2 separate regions of the Homo sapiens genome follow, and region 2 is linked to region 1. The links are contacts of gene promoters, found by promoter capture Hi-C in blood cells and fetal thymus (Javierre and others, 2016). All regions are on one chromosome and are shown on one strand. Each heading gives the region's core, a stretch centred on a gene start or on the middle of the fragment in contact. The rest is flanking DNA. Distances are from core to core; before and after follow the strand shown.

Region 1 (7,817 bases), core at 2,115-4,614:
TTTAGTATACATCATTTTAGTATACATCAAGAGCATTCAAAATCCCCATACTTTCATACAGGGTCAGAATAACCTCTTTAAAAGACAATTTGTCTTGTCAAATCAATATCGTTTCATTCCATTTGACCCAGCAGTTCAGTTCTTGGAAATTATTATGTGGAGAAACTTATACATATGCATAAAGATACAAGAAAAAGTACATTCACAGCTTCATTTTTTATAGTAGAAAATGCTGGAAACAGATTAAAAGCCCAACAAATATACAACCTACAGAATCTTTAAGAAAGTGAGCTTACATTTACTTTTTATGGGTGGATTTTTCCGTGGGCCAACTGACACCTATTGGAGGAAGAAACATGTCTGATAACTTTTTGATGTTTTCTTGCAAACTTCCTTCTGTTTCAAACTCACATGTTTACTGAAAGAAAAACAATTTATGAGGAGAGAAAGGGAGAAAATATTTGCAAAATCTCTGACAAGGGATTAATAACCAGAATATATATGAAACTCACTAGAAAAAAACAGATAATCCAACTAAAAAGGAAGCAGAGGCTGGGTGCGGTGGCTCACGCCTGTAATTCCAGCACTTTGGGAAGCCGAGGCGGGTGGATCACTAGGTCAGGAGATTGAGACCATTCTGGCTAACAGAGTGAAACCCAAAATACAAAAAATTAGCCAAGCATGGTGGTGGGCGCCTGTAGTCCCAGCTACTGGGGAGGCTGAGGCCAGAGGCAGAGCTTGCAGTGAGCCCAGATTGTGCCACTGCACTCCAGCCTGGGCGACAGAGCAAGACTCCGTCTCAAAAAAAAAAAAAAAAAAAAAAGCAGAATATCTGAACAGATATGTCAAAAGAAGACATACAAATGGTGAATAGCTATATTAAAAACTGCTCAACATCACTAATCATTGGGGAAATGAAAATCGAAACCACAAGAGATATCATCTCATTCCAGTTAGAATGGCTATTATCAAAAATATGAAAGTGCAAGCAAAGGTGCAGAGAAAGGGGAATGTTTGTACACTGTTGGTGGGATTGTAAAGTAGTACAGCCATTATGGAAAACAATATGGAGGTTCGTCAAAAAAACTAAAAAGAGAACTACCATATGGTACAGCAACTTCACTGCTGGGTTTATATCCAAAAGAAAGGAAATCAGTAAATAGAAGAGATATCTGCACTGTCATGTTTATTGCAGCACTATTCACAATAGCGAACATATGGAATCAACCTAAGTGTTCATGAATGGATGAATGGATAAAGAAAATATGAGATATATAGAGAGAGATATATATAGATACATACACACTATATATACACACACTGTATATAGTATAGAGAGTGTATATATATATCCAATGTGATACGCACACACACACACAGTGGCCTATTATTCAGCCACAAAAAGGAATAAAATCCTGTCATTTGCAGAAACATGAATGGAACTGGAGGTTATTGTGTTAAGTGAAATAAATCAAGTAGAGAAAGACAAATATTACATGTTCCTACACATGTTTGGGAGCTTAAAAAGTGGATCTCAGCTGGGCACGGTGGCTCACGCCTGTAATCCCAGCACTTTGGGAGGCCAAGGCAGGCAGATCACCTGAGGTCAGGAGTTTGAGACCAGCCTCGCCAACATGGTGAAACCCCATCTCTACTAAAAATACAAAAATTAGCCGGGTGTGGTGGCACACACCTGTAATCCCAGCTACTCGGGAGGCTGAGGCAGGAGAATCGCTTGAACCTGGGAGGTGGAGTTTGCAGTGAGCCGGAAAAAGAAAAAAAGTGGATCTCACAGAAGTAATGAATAGAATGGTGGTTACCAGAGGCCGGAAAGGGTGGGGGTAGGGGAAGAATAGAGGGTGGCTGATGGGGACAAAAATACAGTTAGGTGGAAGAAATAAGTTCTAGTATTCAATAGCACAGTAGGAAAATTATAGTTAATAATTTACTGTATGTTTCAAAATCGCTAAAAGAGAATTGCAATGTTCCTAACACAAAGAAAAGATAAATGCTTGAGGTGATGGATATCCTAATTACACTGATTCGATCATTACACATTGTATACATGTATCAAAATATCACATGTACCTCCAAAATATCTACAAATATGATATATCAATTCTAAAAATACAAAAAAAAATCATTAAACTATAGGGCATCTAGGTGGTAGAAAATAATGCAACTTAACTGCAGTATGGAAATATGGAGCAGTCTTCAAAATATTAAGTTAAAAAAGAAAAGGAAAGAAAAAAGGAGAAAGGTGTGCTAACAATTGATTATGTCTTTTATGAAAATTATATATATATATATATATATATATATATGTTTTTATCCATGCATAAACTATTAATGGAAGGATTCCCAAGAAACATATTACTGGCTGCCTCTAGTGAAAAGGAAAAAGATTTCAAAGCCCCAAGCATGAGAGTCTTACTTTTCATTGTTTATATTTTTCATTTTATTTTGATTTTTACCATGTATAGATAATATATCTTAAAATAAAATCAAAATTATATTTAAAATTTTAAGACTATTATATCCTTTGTATATATAATTTTTGCATCACTTTTGAAACTCTACTCAAGGAAAACAATATTAAAAGCAAAATACCTGTCAGTAAATTATAGAATAGCCAAATGCAAAAATTTAAAGCAGCAATTAAAATTAACATCACACTTTTTAAATAATATTGTGAAGTCTTTGGTTAATGTATTCATCCATGAAATAAAATTTTTGAGTGCTTATATTACATCTTAACACATACTGCTAAAAGACAAAAACAAGATACAAAATCATCTCTAGATAATGATGTAGACTGTTTAAAAATAAAATAGAAAATTGGAAATAAATCAAATACTAACATTTGTTATCTGTTAGTGATAAGACTGTTGTTAATATATGTGGACATGCTTATTAGACATACAAGTGGTGATGAAAAATAGTTATTCCAACTCTTCTGTTTAGAATTTTTTTGCTTTTTTTGTTATTCCTCTGTGGAATATTTCCAGAAGTCAAATAAAGTTGAGGGTCATTCATGAATAAAAGGAGCTGGTTCATTATTGAGGAGCTCTTACCAAGACACTTAACTTTTTGTTTTGTTTTGTTTTTTAAGACAGGGTCTCACTCTGTTGTCCAGGCTGGGGTGCAGTGGCACAATCTCGGCTCACGGCAACCTCCGCCTCCCAGGTTCAATGATTCTCATGCCTCAGCCTCCCAAGTAGCTGGGATTACAGACAGGCACCACCACACCCAGCTAATTTTTGTATTCTCCGCAGAGATGAGATTTTGCCATGTTAGCCAGGTCAGTCTCGAGCTCCTGACCTCAAATTATCTGCCTGTCTCAGCCTCCCAAAGTGCTGGGATTACAGGCATGAACCACGATGCTCAGCCCCTTAGCTGAACTTTTAAACAGAGATTTCTTCTATTTCAGACAGACACTGAGACTGAGGCACCCATTCCATGGATACCTCCACCAGTGTTACCTATGACTCCAGCCTCCAGATTTCCCAGTTCATCCTGATGGGATTACCAGGCATTCATGAGTGGCAGCACTGGCTCTCCCTGCCCCTGACTCTGCTCTACCTCTTAGCTCTTGGTGCCAATCTCCTCATCATAATCACCATTCAACATGAGACCGTGCTACATGAACCCATGTACCATTTGCTGGGCATATTAGCAGTGGTGGACATTGGCCTGGCCACCACCATCATGCCCAAGATCCTGGCCATCTTCTGGTTTGATGCCAAGGCCATTAGCCTCCCCATGTGTTTTGCTCAGATCTATGCCATCCACTGCTTCTTCTGCATAGAGTCAGGCATCTTTCTCTGCATGGCAGTAGACAGATACATAGCCATCTGTCGCCCTCTTCAGTACCCCTCCATAGTCACTAAAGCTTTTGTCTTCAAAGCCACAGGGTTCATCATGCTCAGGAATGGCCTGTTGACCATCCCAGTGCCTATACTGGCTGCCCAGAGACACTACTGTTCCAGGAATGAAATCGAGCACTGCCTCTGCTCTAACTTGGGGGTTATCAGCCTGGCTTGTGATGACATCACTGTGAACAAATTTTACCAACTGATGCTAGCATGGGTCTTGGTTGGGAGTGATATGGCTCTGGTATTTTCTTCCTATGCTGTAATCCTTCACTCTGTGCTGAGGCTGAACTCAGCAGAAGCAATGTCCAAGGCTCTGAGCACTTGTAGCTCCCACCTCATCCTCATCCTCTTCCACACAGGTATCATTGTGCTGTCTGTCACACACCTTGCAGAGAAAAAGATTCCCCTTATTCCTGTGTTCCTTAATGTGCTGCACAATGTCATCCCCCCTGCACTCAACCCCCTGGCCTGTGCACTCAGGATGCACAAACTCAGACTGGGCTTTCAGAGACTGCTTGGACTGGGTCAGGACGTGTCCAAGTAACTCCAGCTTTAGGAATCCAGTAAGATGTTAGGAAATGACAGAGGTTTTAGTTCTCAATAGATCAGGGTTATAATCTGCACTTACCACACTCCCTAGGAAAAAAATGGCCAATAAAATCATGAAAACTGTCAGCCTCACTAATCAAAATATGTATATTAAAATTACAAGAAAATTTCCTATTACCTGGAAAATAAGTAAGAACAAAAAAGTGAAATGTTTCTAACTATTACTGCTAGCCTACCCCGAGATTAACACTTTCCTACACAACTGGTAGGACTATAAACACACCAAAAAGCAATTTGGTAAAATTTATCAAAATGTTTATAAATGTTTAAATGTTCTTAACCAGTAATTCTATTTTAGAAAAATATCCAAAAGAAATAGTCTAAATGCAGTCAAAAAGTTATTCATAAAAATCATTATAATATGACTAATAATAGAAAACAAAGCCTTTAATATTTACACATATTTAACTCTTACATATTTATGTGCTTTTCATATGTAATTTTTATAATAAAAAGTAAACAATAAATGTTTATTAAAAAGGAGTAAAGTTTAATTTTCGTACCCAAAAAAATCTCAATAATTAATGAATTAATGGTTAACAAGTGTTAAATACTTCTTGTAGGCCAGAAACTTTGATAAAATATGTATGTAGATTATCTGACTCAATTCTCACAATAACCCTTTGGGCAGGTACAATATTATTCCCAATTTCCAGCTAAGAAAACTCAGGCACTGGAAATTATAGAACTTGCCCCCTGACAGCACAGTTTCTAAGTGGGAGAGCTGGGATTCAAGTCCTGGGAAGTCTGATTGAAAAACCATAGCACTATTCTTACTCTCAGTCTTGCTCTGTTCCAAAATTTCTGTGTGAACTTGAACAACTTATGAAACCTCCCTATGTTTCAATTCTTCTGATTAAAAGTGACAAAAATCATAACATTTTGCTGAGCCAAATCGCAAACATGCTGTGACAATCAAAAGAGATAAAGAATACATGCTTTGAAATAAGATATACACATGGAAATATAAATCTAACTATGTGGCAGTTTTCTTGCTAGGAAAGGAAGAAAATGGATCCTAGAAAATGCCCTATAAAAATAGTTTCAAATAACCTGTTAATTAAAGCTAACTGAATTTTTGCTGTTTGCTCACCTAAAAAAATTGCACACTTTTTGAGTACAAGAACCATTCATGTGTACTTTCAATGAGCCTCAGTCAGAACATTGCACACAGTAGGTGCTTAATTCATTATATAATCAGGGAGCATTATAGATCTGTTGAATTATGTGTATCAAAGAAAATACCTGGACCATGGTCTGAATAATGACCTCAGGAAGTTTGCACATGAGTCCACCTTGGAAAACAACTTCTTAGGAAATAGCACAAGGACTAAAGCAACATCAGAAACCATCAGCTCATCTCACCAGAGTAATGCATGCTGGGCAGCATAACAGAGCTGCAGGGGGAAGTCATCTGTGTGCGGGACAGGACTTCTTAAGAGTTATGCTTGGAAACTTACCCAAAAAGAGACTATCAACTTCCTCCAAAAGAATTGGCTGCTTCATTCTTTCTTGACAGTGATTCAAATGGAAGCAACTGATCATCTAATAAGAGGAGGCAAGAGAGAGACAATTACAGAAAGGATTTTAACTTAACTCAACCTCCCATGGTTTGTTACCCTGAAGGATCAGAGTAATAACATCTAATCCTGCAGAGTTCTTCACAGTTTGCAAAATACTTTCCCACAGTGGATTGAGTAATTTCACATAATTTTCATAGCAGTCCTCTTAATTAGGAAGCTGTTAAAGGATTACTATTAATTCTTTTCTACAAAGAAATAGGGGCTAAGTTTGGGTAATTATATAAATTCACCCACTGGGAAGTGGCAGTACTGAGGCTCAGGCAGTTTAGCTGTCTCTGGTAGATGGCAATAGTGTGCCATCCTCAAAGCTGCCTTTAAACTTTCATTCATACATACCTTTATTTATTTATTTGTTTATTTATTCATTCATTCAAAAATACATAGCATGAGTCTATGCACAGCAGCCCAAATTGTAGGCCACTCTCAACAACTTCTGTGGACATGTGTCTCAGTTCTTCTGAAAATAAATAAACACCTAACATTCATCTTGGAGTCAGGAAGATTTATGCAATTAATTATTCTCTCCTCTATATGTGCCATGAGGATAAAAAAAGATTGTGCATTGTTTTATTTTTATGAATTATTTATGTTTGTCATGTATTTCATATTTGCCCATATGCTTTGCTTTATATGATTTTAATACTGTCATACTATATTTGCCTGTTTGTCTTCTCTCATTCACTTCTTTCCATATTCCTTTGATATTTTAACTTTAGTCTGTCTTTTGGAAACACCGTTAGTTTGATCTTTATTTTTAACCATATTTGAGGAACTTTCCCTTTAAATAGGGGAACTAAGTCCATTCATATTTGTTATAATTCCTATGATTTTGTTTTGTTTCACCCTGTCATCTTATTTATTTTTATTATGTTTTCTGGCAGATTTCTCCTACTCCTGACTTTTGCTGAACTGATCTCTTTCACACATCTCCCCACATCCCCATTTCATTGATCTGCACATTTTATTAAATATATCTATTTGACAGGTTGTTGTATGCATAACTTTATTAACACATTCAAACTTATACTTTTTTATTAATATGCCCAAATTACATAATAGTTATGCAGTATTTTCTCATTCCAATTCCAAGCTCAAGATAAGAACTTTATCATTTTTATGTCTCTTTTATTCTCTGTTGAACATCTCACTGAATATGGCACATTCCAAAGACAAGCATAATAATAGCTCCCACCTCACATGCTCTTTTGCAGTGAAACATTAACAATTCCGTATCAAGAAATTGAACTTAGTTCCCCTTCTCCTTGAATCTGAGCCTCACTGATTCACTTTTAACCAAGAGAATGTGACAGAAGTCCAAAAAAAGCCATTCAGCATCCACTTGTGTCTCCTGGAAAATTTGCTCCCTGGTTGCTCCCTGGAGGATGCTCCCTGTCAGAATCCAGCTGTCACGTGATGAGAAGTCTAAACCACATGACAAGGCCAAGTATGGGGACTCTAGTCAACAGCCCCAGCTGAGCCCAGCCTTGGAATCATGCTAGCCCAGGAAGTCTAACATGTGAGTGAAGATGTCTTCAACAGATTCCAGTCACTAACCATTTGATCACCTCCAGCTGTCTGAGTCTTCTGAGCCAAGGCTGCATATTTGTGAAGTAGAAGTATGCCATCATCACGGCACTGCTCTTAAATTCCTGACACAGAGAATCTGTGAGCATGATAAAATAAGTGTTGTTTGATACCACTATCTTTAGGGTGATCTGTTAAAAAGCATAGATAACTAGAACACTGGATT
Region 2 (7,817 bases), core at 2,966-5,465, 120 kb before region 1:
CTCAAATGTTTATGGGGGTTGTGGGGTCCCCTGCAGCTAGGATTCCAGAGGTACATGGAGAGTGGGCCACACATTGCCTATTTAATTCACTCCTTCCCCAGGAGCCACTCAAGGCCAGAAATGAGACCTGGTGCTCAGCAACCCCATGCAGGATTTCCAGCTTCCTCCTCTTTCAGCCCAGCGTCTGTGTCCTCCCTCAGTCTGCTCTCAATTCCTCCCTTCCAAAGATCTGCCCAAAGTGTTGTCAGTATTCTTGATGGTTTTGTCTCTTGGTGGGAGAAGCTCTTCCTGGCTGTGTCTAGTCAGCCATATTGGCTCTTCTCTATTCTGCTCTCATCACTATGAATACCTTACTCTTGTTTACCTTGGACTTAATTTATTGTTCCTTTTCTAAATTCTTAAGTTGTTAACTTAGATAATTGATTTTACAACTTTACTCTTTTCTAATATAGGCATTTAAAGTATAAATTTTTCTCTGTTTTCTCTTTGGCTACATCTCACAACTTTTGCTATATGTACTTTTCAATCAGTTTGAAATATTTTCTGACTTCCTCTGTGATTTCTTAGTTGATCCATGGGTTATTGAGATGTATTTAGTTTAGTTTCCAATTATTTAACTCTTTTCATGCTACCTTATTGTTATTGTTTTCCAATTTAATTCTGTATTGGTAAGAGACTATGACCCTGCACACATACTAAAAAAAAAAAAAAATCTCCTGCCCCTGCTCCCCATGCCTTTCTAAACCCCCATGTGACATTAGCAATAAGCCCAAAGTTCCCTCACCCAAAGGATGAGAAGGCTCCCTCATACTGCCTATTAGAACAAAACTCATTCTCTACACTTTATACTTCCACAGAGGAAGGCTCTTCTTCCTCTCCCCACAAGGGGGACATATGGGAGTGAATACTTCTCTCTTCTCTCCGGTTTCTTCTCTCCTTTGCTTGCTTTTCCATATGGGAAGAAGGGTCACTAATACAATTGGGCAGAGATCATTGGGAGCAATGGATGCAATGGATGGGGTTATTGTGTTTCAAAAGTACAAAACATGTTCTGATCTGTTTCACTGCCTGCCTCATGGATATGTAAGGATGGTAGTAAACACTCTCTTTTTTTGTATTTAAATACCATAGCCTAACCTGCATAAGAGCCTGTGACCTGCTTTTTAGAGAGAAACCTGGAAAACAGCCACTCACTGTTTTGCATTTTATATTCCGCTAAGGTTCCATTTATGAGATTTTGCGATGTCTTTCAGATGGCTGGATAATTGTGCTTGGAGTCGAATTTTCAAATTAAATTGCCTCATGTCCAGGTGGAATAAGGTAGTAGGAAGAGGTGCAAAGATTTAGAATTAAGAGTCTCTCCTCTATCCTCTGGTTCCACTTGTATTTTCTAATTATGACTTACCAGAGAACCCTGCATTAAAGACATTTTTAAACAAACAAAAACTGCAAACCTTTACAAGAGGGAATTCTAAAAGATATACTTCAGGCAAAAGAATACATATCCCACTTGGAAGATCTGAGATGAAAAACGTATACTTTTTAGGCTGTAGGTTGGTCTGTTACAACAAAGATTACCAAAAAAATGGTGGTTTAACCCAGATACAGGTTTATTTCTGTTTCAGGTTCAAGTCATGGTTGGTGGCCCAGACAGTGTCAGGAACACAGCTCTTCTGTATTGTTACTCTTCCATCTTCAGTTCACATTTCTGTCTTGTGATCCAAGAAAGCTGCCTGAGATGAAGCTTAGACTCTCTAGGGTTAAGAGAGTTTGTTACAATAGATGTAATACATCATACCCTGATTTTCTCTAGGACAATTTACCAGAGTTTAAGCCCTAGACTGGGAATGAAGCTGATTAGAATGTGCAATTCCTCCTGCAATAAAAACAGCTCATACCAGTCCTCCCTAATTCATCTACTTGCAACGGCCAAGTTAAAGGCCTGATACTAAGCCTCTCAGACAGAGTACTAGTTATTATGAGTAAAATTTACTAAGAAAAGAAAAACTAGAAAAAACAACTATTAACTCTACCCCTCCTACCAATATGAAATCCCAAAATAAATCTTATCTCCCGAGCATCTTACATCAAAGTAGCAATGACTTGACTTCTTCCATGACTAAACAAAATGTGTTACCTTCTAGGAACAAAAATAATTAGGCCAGATCTCAGGGCAACATCAACAAACAGGTTGCAATATATCAATTGTAGCAGTCATCTTTTAAGTTTTCACCCAGTTCCTATTAACAGAAATAGAAGATCTAATTGACACCACTCCACATGCCCTATTTCCAAAAGAGAAACCCATTTTTAAGTGTCCATAACTGCTACTATACTTATTGCTTTATTTATTATAGCTATGTTTACCAACACCGGGATCTAGCACATTTTGTAGTTATTAGATGCTAATAATTATATGGTTACTTTTGGGTTTTTTAATGAATATTTATAAAACAAACATATACGCAGTACTTGGTCTTATTCCTTCTTTATCCAAAGCATGAATATAAATAAGTTGAAAATACAAAGAGATATCTTTTAAAATAAATTTCCTAGACACATATAGATTTCTTCCTTGAAAATAGAAATTATATTTTATTATTCCTAGAGCCTATTACCATAACTTCTCCACTTATGTTTGTTTTAAATAAATAAGTAATACCCATATTGCAATAAATGCTGTTTTCTTACACTGCGACCTTCTCAGCTGCTTTGAAGAGACCCTATTGGTAAACAGGAGCCAATGATCTGGGGATCCCAGCACTAACTTAGAGGTTTTGAAGAAACTCTAAACCTAAAACCAACCAAAGGGTGGGACTTTACAATTCCAGACAGTGTTGCATGGCCTACCATTGGGCAAAGGCGAGAAAGATGACACATTCAGAGCTATCATCTATTTCTCCTATCCCCAAGTCCTACTGACACAAGGAGTAGAGAAATGTTGAAATCAAGAGCAAAAGAAAAAATGGCAAAAATATTCACAAATCCAGATATCCAGGTACATCCCAATAAGCCAAGTATCTGTGGGTGTTCTTTAGCATGGCACTAGTAAGACTAGAAGGAATACTCACTGCAAAATGGTCTGTATTCATGTAATCTACACCAGTCACAGGCTCCTGGCTGTGGTCCGCAGAAGAAGCCTCCGAAGGAAACAATGAGAATATGTTCAGATCAATCCTTTTGTGTAAACACTCTGAGCACTCGCTGGCGGATCTGCTGAGTCTTCACTCCATAGACAAGAGGATTGAGCGCAGGTGGCATGAGGAGATACCGTGTGGCCAGAAGAACATGGACATGATGGGGTACATGATGACCAAAGCGGTGAGTGAGGAAGGAGAAAATTCCAGGGACATAGAAGACCAGGATGACACAAATATGAGAGCCACATGTGCTAAACGCCTTAAGTCGGGCCTCACTCCCTGGTACCTTCAGCACTGCCTGGAGGATGTGGGCATAGGAAACACCAATGGCCAGAACATCCAGCCCAATCACAAGCAAGGCCATAGTCAGCCCATAAGCTCGATTGACTGTGGTTTCTGAGCAGGCAAGTTTCACAACAGCCATATGTTCACAATAGGCATGGCCTATGATGGTGGCTTGGCAGAAGATAAGTGTTCCCAACAAAATGGGGAAGGGGATAAGGAGTAGTAATCCCCTCACCAGCACCACCATTCCGATGCGCCCTATGACCCCTGGATGCAGGATTGTGGAATGGTGCAAGGGGTGACAAATGGCTACATAGCGATCCAGAGCCATGGCCACAAGTACCCCTGACTCCATGGAGGAGAATGCATGGATGAAGAACATCTGGATCAGGCAGACGATGTACCCAATCTCGTGGGCATGAACCAGGAGCACTGCAAGGGCTTTGGGTGCAGTGGAGGAGGCCAGAACCAGGTCGATGGCAGCTAGCATGGACAGGAAGAGGTACATAGATTGGTGCAAGGATGGGTCCATCCAGATGATGAAGAGAATGGTAACATTGCCCACTAAAGCAAGGAGGTAAAGGATGCCCAGGGGCAGTGCAATCCAGTGCTGGCTTTCCTCTAAACCTGGAATCCCTACCAGGAGAAAAGAAGGCTGGGATAGCCTCCAGCTTGAATTGCTAAGGAGCATTATCAATGGCTTGGAGAGGAAAGAGAAAAAAGAAACCAAAGTCATGATTTCTGCATTCCTGCTACATTATCACATTGTCCAAATGGGGCAACCATCATCCTGAGAAGAATAAAGTGACTTCAACTGCAAACGAAGGGAATAAAGTTAGCTACAGGGAAGAAAATCTCCTTTGGTGGAGATAATTCTTTTACAAGTGAGACATCCACATGTCTGAATTAATACAAGCTTAGTTTTGTTTAGAGATAAGAGTAAACATAAGCTGCTTTTGGAGAGATGCTTAAACTCTACTATTCAGTTGCTTATATTTTGGAACTGTCAACTTCAAAGAGTTATTTTTATTAGCCTCTTGGTATTACTGACCACTGTGAATCAATCTGTTGTTTTTGAAATTAGTCTTCCTCAGTTTCCATGACATGGCACTCCAGAGTTGTTCCCCCTGTAGCCTTGGTCCCACCATTTTCTCTATCTCATTATGTCATTGATTCCAGGGATCCATCCTCTCCTGTATTCCCTATTCTGTGCATTATCTCTTAATTGACTTCATTTATTCCCATGGTTTTAACTGTTTATATACTTTTATTTCTTCCAAATTTATGTCTGTTTACCCAAATATCCTTCTGAAATATAAATCCATTTTTCCATTTGCTTTATGAATATCTATACACCACATCCTCAACATATTCAACATTGGATTAATTCACCTATTTTTCCCAAATTTGTTCTACTTATGTTTTGGCAATAATTTTTAATTACATCCCTAGCTACCTACACAACCCAATCTAAAAACTTGGAACCTGTCTTTACTCATAATCCTCATCCCCTTTTATTCATTCACCAATTCATGTTGACTTTATGTTAACCCCTCTTATATCCACTCCTTCTTCTCAACCCCCAATATCACTACCTTAGTTTACACCCAACTTCTCTCACCTGGACTATTTCATAACATCTTTCTGCCTTTGCCATAAACACCTTCCCAATTCACTCTCAACCCTGAAGTCATGGGTTTTTTTTCTAAAATGCAGATCTCATCATATCACTCCTAAGATTAAAATCCTTTGGTGAATTTATTGCATGGAATAAAATCATACTTTGAGACTGGCATAAAAGATTATCAAAAGTTATCTTTTTTGCATTACTTTTGTCTTACAGTTGATATATTTCTACATATGTTTTACTAACCATCCCTGCATTCTTGGAGTTACATGTACACACCAAGCTTACCTATGCCTTTTGTGTAGTCTGTCTCCAAATTCCTTTATCTGAATTGGTCCTTCAAAATTCAAAGTCCACTGTCACCCCTCAAAAGGACTCATTGCCTATGTCAGATGAATATTGATTATGTTCAGAGCACTTTATAATCTTCCTTTATTCATCCATAACTTTCTGACTTATCTCTAGAAATTCTATCAGTGTCTTAATGGTTTGTTTTTTTAAAGAAACATATCTTATTATACTTTATAATTATAACATAGCATGGTGAACATTTCACAATGTAGTGAGATAAATAAAAGCAATGGAGGAAGACAGACTTAGTTTAAATTTTGTCCATTTCATATTCTAGGAATAAAACCTTGGCAGGATACTAAAACTCTCTCAGTCTTGATTTCCTTATTTTATAACTAACATCAATCTTACAGGTTTATTGTAAACATTAATTAAGTAATATATGTAAAGTCTTGATATCTAGATTAGTCTACAAATTATAGTTATAATTATTTTAATATTAGCAATAGAAGATGACTGAGAATTAGACCACAGGCTTCTTTCTTTTCTTCTTTGTCTCCATGACTCTGCTTCTCTTTTTCAAACTTTTGATATGTTTACCTCTCATCATGATATTATAACAAACAATTCAGTGTCTTTGACAACCGCATGTTAACATGAAGTATCAACTTTGTCCATGGGATTCACCCTTGAAATTTACTAAAAGAAAAAACTTGAAACTGGATATGTGTATGTAGGTATGTTTGTCTTAAAGGACAGGCGTAGTCTGAAATAACTGTATTTTTCTCTGTTGGAGTGGTGGTGCACATGTGCGTGTAAAGATTAAAAAGTCAAGAATGACTTAGTTCTTGTGGATAATGCATCCATAGATTACTCAGAGCTCTTTTTGTACAAATTAATGATGACAATCATATTGCCCTAAAACTCTGAATATGATAGCTATAAAGTCTGAAATGCCACGTGGGCATATATCTCCCAAGTTTCTCTGTTTTTCTTCTAGAATCAACTTGAAATAACAATGACATTTTTATTGAGACATCCAGGGGAATCTCATAATCTTACAAAAATTCACCTCTCAGTGCTTAACATTCCACATAGAGAGAAAGTCCATTGTCTTTTTTGCCTACCTCCTTCTGTTGCACGCTTCAGCCCATTTCTCATTTTTTAGCTAAGGAGTCAGAGAACAGCTGTGCATTTGTGGAAGGCACTCAAGACTTGAATAGTAGCAGTGTGAGCAGAGCAGTGAGGCTAAAACCAAACTAGCCCTGGGGCTGCTGAAATAAGTAAATAAATAAGTAGAGAAGTAAATAAAGTAAATAAAGTAAGAAGTAAGTAAATAAAGCAGAGAAGTAAATTAAGTAAACAAATAAGCGGAAAAGCAGAGACACATGTAACTGAGTATAACCGGCTTCTACTTTGTGTTGCTTGGCTCGTAAGCCTAGGGTAAAAGTCTGCAAGTGCTTAGTAAATGTTAATTTTTTAACTTATTTTAATTTAATTTCTGACTCAGAGTAGGGGAGGGTGGGAGGTGGATAAGGCATAAAAAAATCCCATATTGGGCACAATGTACACTATTCAGATAATAGGTACACTAAAAAGCCCAGACTTCATCACTATACAATTCATCCATGTAACCAAAACCACTTATACTCTTAAAGCTCTTGAATTTTTTAAATAAATTGCAATTAATTGTTATTAAAGTAAACAGGAGGTCCCGCTATGATTCTTAGAGGAAAAGCAGAAAGGACTTTATTCCCAGGAACCTAAAGGCAAAGCTGTATTTAGTTATTCAACTACAAAGCAGAGGACAATTACCAAAGAGTAGATGTTGTTCAATTGGTACTTATTCATCTAATTCAACCCAAGCAACCTTTCTTTTGTGAAGTTGTGCTCAAATTCTGTAAGGTAGTATGACATGTCTCCTTTTCTTTCCTATTGTAATGCCTTTACCACTTTGTCCCTGCATTAAGACCTCACACTCTAAGCCAGGCATCATGTCAGTCTTTAAAGAGCAGGGACTCTGCATTACTTATTTCAGCAGCCCCAGAGCAAGCTCCAGGAGCATCCGGAATCTAGTGAGTAATCAGTAATGTTGGCTGAATAAGTAAACACTCATATTATTAGATTAAAAAATAAATAAGTGCACTAGTGTCTTAAAAGACTGAGAATCACAGGAAGGTGATAAGGCAGAGGCTAAATTTAAGCATAGGAATCATGTAGCAAACAGTGGCGTGTCTTTTGAGGGTGTCACTGATTGAGCCTCGATATTCCTCACCTTAAGTGATGCTCTGGGTGCTTCATGGCAGAAAGAGATCTGCTGAATCTCTGCCATAAGAGAAGATGGTGAAATCCTGGATGTGTTCAGAAATAAGAGGGTTTCTTTGGTCCCTAGTAATCACTCTGCACTGCTTCTAGCAGGAAGAGAGGCTCCATCTATGGGATATAATCTATCCCTCTCTCCTCAATCTCCTTCT

Evidence for each region. The method cuts DNA at HindIII sites, captures the fragments that hold promoters and counts their contacts. A CHiCAGO score of 5 or more calls a contact.
Region 2: the fragment with the promoter of OR52L1 here is called in contact with the fragment with the promoter of OR56B4 in region 1 in 12 of 17 cell types (activated CD4 T cells, erythroblasts, M2 macrophages and 9 more); the score reaches 9.0 in activated CD4 T cells.

Annotation. Positions count from the first base shown.
Region 1 is chr11:6,104,320-6,112,136 of GRCh38, forward strand. OR56B4 (olfactory receptor family 56 subfamily B member 4) reads left to right here and starts at 3,365. Exons shown (of 1, transcript NM_001005181.2): 1 at 3,365-4,516. The coding sequence starts at 3,460. The coding sequence ends at 4,419. LOC124902622 (a long non-coding RNA gene) reads right to left here and starts at 7,730. Exons shown (of 3, transcript XR_007062565.1): 1 at 7,622-7,730; 2 at 5,945-6,029; 3 at 1-418. The HindIII fragment of the contact is 4,106 bases long and covers 1-3,890 here.
Region 2 is chr11:5,982,770-5,990,586 of GRCh38, forward strand. OR52L1 (olfactory receptor family 52 subfamily L member 1) reads right to left here and starts at 4,216. Exons shown (of 1, transcript NM_001005173.3): 1 at 3,123-4,216. The coding sequence starts at 4,161. The coding sequence ends at 3,172. It overlaps LOC124902621 (a long non-coding RNA gene), which reads right to left and starts at 2,307. Exons shown (of 2, transcript XR_007062564.1): 1 at 2,138-2,307; 2 at 1,597-1,754. It also overlaps a transcript of OR56A3 not described here. The HindIII fragment of the contact is 2,597 bases long and covers 1,743-4,339 here.